Regions from separate parts of the Homo sapiens genome. Here region 2 is linked to region 1. Evidence: promoter capture Hi-C in 16 types of primary human blood cells and fetal thymus (Javierre and others, 2016). All regions are on one chromosome and are shown on one strand. Each heading gives the region's core, a stretch centred on a gene start or on the middle of the fragment in contact. The rest is flanking DNA. Distances are from core to core; before and after follow the strand shown.

Region 1 (2,803 bases), core at 211-2,710:
TGATAGGAGCAGCCATTAACTAAACGACAGTGCCAACTTTTCACACAAACAACAAATTCTTCCCACTGTGAGCATGACACCTAAGAAACAAGGTTCCTGAATGGAAAAAGCACACACATTCATGAAATCACATTTGCAGCACTGTGCATCCTAAAAAAGTCAACAAATCACTAAACTTCAGGCTAAACATACACGCATCAGTTTATAGGTCAAATATCTACTGCAAACTCTTCACCGCTGTAACTTACTTGCTACTTACACTTAGGACACCAGGGATATTTTTTTTAAAAAGGCAAAAAAATGTTTAAAATTAGACACCAAGAGCCAAATACCAAAAGGCGAGGGGAAGAAGCAGGAAGTTATGAATTTTGAAAACTGTACACATTCACTATTTGTGACGCTAAAATTCAGGAACAAAAGGCCCTAAAGTAACAGGCATGTGGTGTAGACCCGGTTTAGCCCGGTCCCAAAGCGTCCGATTTTTTTTTTCCTCAGAGTAGAAGGGAGTCTGGAGCAAGGGGCGAAGTATTCCAGAGTACGGGGACAGCAAAGGCAAGAAACACTTTTCCGACCCCTTGGCCATGGAGCAGAGCCAAAATAAATACTGGCTGGGCGGTAAGGAACGCGGGGCCTTGGTAGAGCAAAGTGCGGACCAAAGACTTTGCGTCTGGTTGCTTTTACCTTGCCTAGTAGGGTCTTCGTTCTGGCGCCATCTTCATGAAGCCTCACGAACCCGAAGAGACGGCTGTAGAGAGAGAGACACAGAGCTTGTTAATGGTCTGAGAAAGCCAGTGACTTGCTCCTTCCCGAGTCCAAGAGCGACAGCGACAGATTGGTGAGTGCCAAGCTGAGGATGACCCCGTCATCAACGTGGGCAAGCTGCGTCCAGGCCTTCCCGGAGAGTATCGCCAGCCAACCAGGCGGGTGATGGAGGTGCGTACCTGTCCATGCCACCAAGCGCCTCCCTTTCCTCGACTGTCAGGCTAACAGACTCCTCTTCACTCTCGCGGCTCGCTTTTCCTTCCGCCATTTTCTTTGCCTCATCACCGAAGGCAACAGCGGCGGTAGTGAGCGACACTGCGCAGGATTTCATGGAAACAACAAATTTCCAAGTCCCACGACGATACCCAACCTTAATCGAGTAGTTGAAAAGACGCCTTCAATCGCTGCTTGAGACTGTGACGCCAATTTTATCGCCTCCTCAGCGGCTGCAAGGAAAAAAGCTGAGGCAAAGACTTAAGCTACCGAAGCACGGGCAGCGGAACTCGGCTACCTGGATCACATCTGGGAAACTACAGGGAAGGCAGAAGCTCGCAGTGCTGGAGAGCACAGCAGAATTTCTTAAAATCACAAACTTTGCCAGCACCAGCACAAAGTTGTAATTGTGTCACGGGCGAACCCCACGCAGCCGCCGCGACCTCCCCGCTCCCAACCACTTAGTTGTAGCCAATCTAGGCGACTGATTCGTCTCACGTGATCTTTGTTGACTTACGTCAGGCATTGCTCCACTGTACTCCTAGGCTGCTGGGACCCCGCCCAGCCAGTTCGCCAAGGACCTAGGAACATGACAGAGGCTGACTGATTCTGACCGCTGGTTGGTTGATGGTCACGTCTATGGAGAAAAGGGTAGTCTCTGGGATGGAACAACCTGTAGGTTGTGCTAGTTAAATGCATTAAGATAGAAAATGGAGTGTCTGTGCTGGGTGTTTTTGCAGTTGCGATACGCTTGAAGGGGAAGAGAGCGATGGGAAGGGCGGCATCGGGCATCACCCACGGGGCGCAAATGCGAAAAGAGGACACCATGGACTTTAGGAGAGTCCGTAATGAGGCTCCCACTGTCACAAGCCTTGCGAATGCGAGACCTTGCGGGGCATGGCAGGGAAGCTGCGCAGGCCCTAAACCTTCACCCTCAAGACTTTTGGCCCTAAGGCCTTGTCACCTCCATAGGCTGGTTCTTTGCCCATTTCCTCTCCACTGACCAAGTCTAAAGAGAAGGCATAATATCTTATGACCTCAGTCGGTAAGCCAGGCCCTAGGGAATCAACGTGGCAACTGCATTTATCAGTTCATGATATTATCTAAACAACAAACGATGAGCAAAAAAAAAAAAAAAAAAAAAAGTTACTCCACAAACCCAAAATGTTTATTTCTATTGTGATAATGATAATTCCGTGAGGTCTCAGTAAGAGTAGGAGCTTCTGTGGACAGGAATTATAAGAACAATAATTAAGACCTTCATCACACTTTCAAGATGCAGTAACCCTTAGAAAAGAAAAAAACACCACTTTTTTCTTACTTTCTCAATTGTAACCAAAATTATAAATAATAGGTAAAAGAATTTATTTCTGAACCCCAAATATCTGAGAGAGGTCTTAGTCAATTTAAAAAGTTTATTTTGCAAGACTTACCCATGATACATTTGCCCAAGGTGGTCAGGGCACAGCTTGCTTTTGTACGTTTTAGGGAAACATGATTGGTTCGGTCAGGTAAGAGGGACAGCTCGAAGCGGGGGCTTCCATGTTAGAAATAGATAAGAGACAGGTCGGGCGCTGTGGTTTACGCCAGTAATCCCAGCACTTTGGGAGGCCGAGGCGGGCAGATGACCTAACGTTGGGAGTTTCAGACCAGCGTCACCAACATGGAAAAACCCCGTCTCTACTAAAAATACAAAATTAACAGAGCATGGTGGCGCATGCCTGTAATCTCAGCTACTCTGAAGACTGAGGCAGGCGAATCGCTTGAACCCAAGAGGCGGAGGTTGCGGTGAGCCGAGATGGCACCATTGCATTCCAGCCTGGGCAAC
Region 2 (2,700 bases), core at 143-2,642, 78 kb before region 1:
TCCAATCACTGATCTTTGGGATTAATTGTCCTTTTATTGGCCTAATTCAGACTGGATGGTGCCGAAGACCCCATGACAGTTACATCTTTAGTGTGAAATGTTGAGTATACCTTTCCTGAAACAAAAAGACTACCTCAACAAATCAGATTTTTGTTAACTCTGCAATAAGCCTTATATAGAAAGCTTTGTCTGTATAAGTGACTCCAAACTTCTACACTTTGGAAAACTAACTTCCTTTCTATGGAATCTGTGTTTGCAGGGACCTTAGCTTTGCAGTTGAATAAACTCTTCTTAAACATTATACTGACCTTTTTGAATACTTAGGTTGACATTCATCGCAAAGTTCTCCAGTGTATAATGTGTAATGCACACATTAATAAATTTGTTTATTTTTCTCTTGTTAGTTTTTCTGTCAGTCTAATATGCGGGGACCCAACTAACGAACCTAAAAATAAATGAAGGCTAAAGTTTTTCTTTTCATATAAGATCAAAACAATTGCAGACACTGGAAATAAAAAGCTAAAAAAAAAAAAACTGGACTGTATCAATGTCAATTTCCTAGATGTTAACCTTTGAGAAAAACTGATGGGTATAGGATCTTTGTTTGTATTACCTTTTATAATGATACATACATACTTTTGAAATAAAAAATAATAAAAGAAAACTGGGAAATAAAAAGCTTATTTCCTGAGGAAAAACCCAACATTTGAACACTGTGAACATTGCTTTTATTTTCCCTTAGTGCTATAGTTTGAATATTCCATTCAAAATTCATGTTGAAATTTAATTGGCACTGTGACATTAAGAGTAGAGATCTTTAAGAGGTGATTAGATCATAAGGGCTCTCTCTCATGAACAGATTAATGCTGTCATCAGAAGAGTGGGTTCCTTAGAAAAAGGGTGAGTTTCACCTGGTATCTTTCTATCTTGCTTGTAATGTGACGCCTTCCACCATGTTCTGACACAGCAAGAAGGCTCTCTTCAGACATGGTCCCAAGATCTAGGACTTCCTGGCCTCTAGAACTTCATGTCAAATAAATCTCTTTATAAATTACCCAGTCTCTAGTACTCTATTGCAGGGGCAGAAATGAACTAAGATATTTGGTTTGCAAACCGGAGTATGCTAACAGAGCAAGACAATACAGACTATTTTTTAAGTATATGAAGTATTGGAAGTACAGCATACTTACTCTCCTCAACACAAAAAGGGAAGCATAATAGCCACACTTCAGACTATACTATATTTTTAAGTAAAATCTGTCTTGAAACCATATTATTAAATATATGAGAACACAGGCCTTTCCTAAACAAGTCACTACAGGATAGAAACTGGCCTGAAAAGAAAATAACTTGACCAGGTGCAGTGGCTCACTCCTGTAATCCCAGCACTTTGGGAGGCCAAGGTGGGTGGATCACCTGAGGTCAGGAGTTCAGGACCAGCCTGACCAATATGGTGAAGCCCCGTCTCTACTAAAAATACAAAAATTAGCTGGGCATAGTGGCAGGCGCCTGTAGTCCCAGCTACTCGGGAGGCTGAGACAAGAGAATTGTTTGAACCCAGGAGGCAAGGGTTGCAGTGAGCTAACGCCACTGCACTCCAGCCAGGGTGACAAAACCAAGACTCCGTCTCAAAAAAAAAGGAAAAATAAAATAACTTGCAAGATTACAGCACTTCAGTACTATTTTAGTAAAACCTAAAGAAAAAAGAGAGGTATATAATTCAAATTACTCAGCCTACATTTAATTTGTCAGCATTCAAGATCTGCCAGGAGCAGTAAAAAACTTGGATGCTACGGTAAAATTACTGCTTTACTATTCCACACCCCCAAACAGCATAAAATGCCAAACATTTTTAAACAGCAAACATTTTGAAAATACATATTTCAAAACATGCATGAGAAAAGACTTTTAAAACTGATTACATATTTATAAAAAATAAAAGTTATGCACAACACCTCACATTACAGAAAGCTAAATTAAATACCACGAACCAAAAAAGTAAACATTAAGACAGTAAAGGAAATGAGACAAAATGATATAACCTCTCGTCTTCATTTTCAGTATCCAATCCTCAAACTAGAGTCACCCAATCCTCAAATTATGACTAAGCTTAAAAATGATCTTTCCAGAAACAAATTATCAATTAAACCATGTTTGTGAAGACATGAATACTCTATTGCTGCAAAATATAGTTCTGTATCTCTAGCTGTAGCAATTATCCCAAAAGAAATTCTGTATCTCTACCAAGATGCTCACAGTTAAGTCTCATCCAAATTTTGCTCTCATGAAGCCAAACTCCAGTCAAATTAAGATATTTCCCATTTCTTACAAGTGGAAGGGTCCCATACCCTGTCAGCCAAGGTAATCTAAACCACCTGTAATACTTCCTCTACTCCCTCATTGGTTTGTTGTCTGCCTCAGCAAACATCACCTCATCCTCTAAAAAGAATCTCAGGCTAGGATTCAAACCTGCATTACGAAGCCTTTTCTGGATTTCCCCAGGCAATAATTTCTGTTGCCTCGATAGCAGTTTGATCAAAATGTTTTTGTACTGGATATAAAGAAATATTAGAAATAACTCAATAAAATATGATACTAATTTTAAAATCAATTTTAATATAACCATTCTCTATTAAAACCAAATAAAAATATGTGTACTATTACAGCATTTTTTCCTTCACATTCTAGGAAAGCAATGTA

What was found. The method cuts DNA at HindIII sites, captures the fragments that hold promoters and counts their contacts. A CHiCAGO score of 5 or more calls a contact.
Region 2: a contact is called between a fragment that was not itself captured here and the fragment with the promoter of UTY in region 1, in 2 of 17 cell types (monocytes and activated CD4 T cells). The highest score is 5.9, in monocytes.

Annotation. Positions count from the first base shown.
Region 1 is chrY:13,478,573-13,481,375 of GRCh38, forward strand. UTY (ubiquitously transcribed tetratricopeptide repeat containing, Y-linked) reads right to left here and starts at 1,461. Exons shown (of 30, transcript NM_001258249.2): 1 at 942-1,461; 2 at 682-745. The coding sequence starts at 1,093. It overlaps MIR12120 (microRNA 12120), which reads left to right and starts at 605; the gene lies at 605-694. The HindIII fragment of the contact is 7,265 bases long and covers 1-2,803 here.
Region 2 is chrY:13,400,242-13,402,941 of GRCh38, forward strand. All of the region lies in intron 6 of UTY (ubiquitously transcribed tetratricopeptide repeat containing, Y-linked), which reads right to left. Among named protein-coding and RNA genes, the nearest start is that of MIR12120, 78 kb to the right of the region's middle. The HindIII fragment of the contact is 1,430 bases long and covers 678-2,107 here.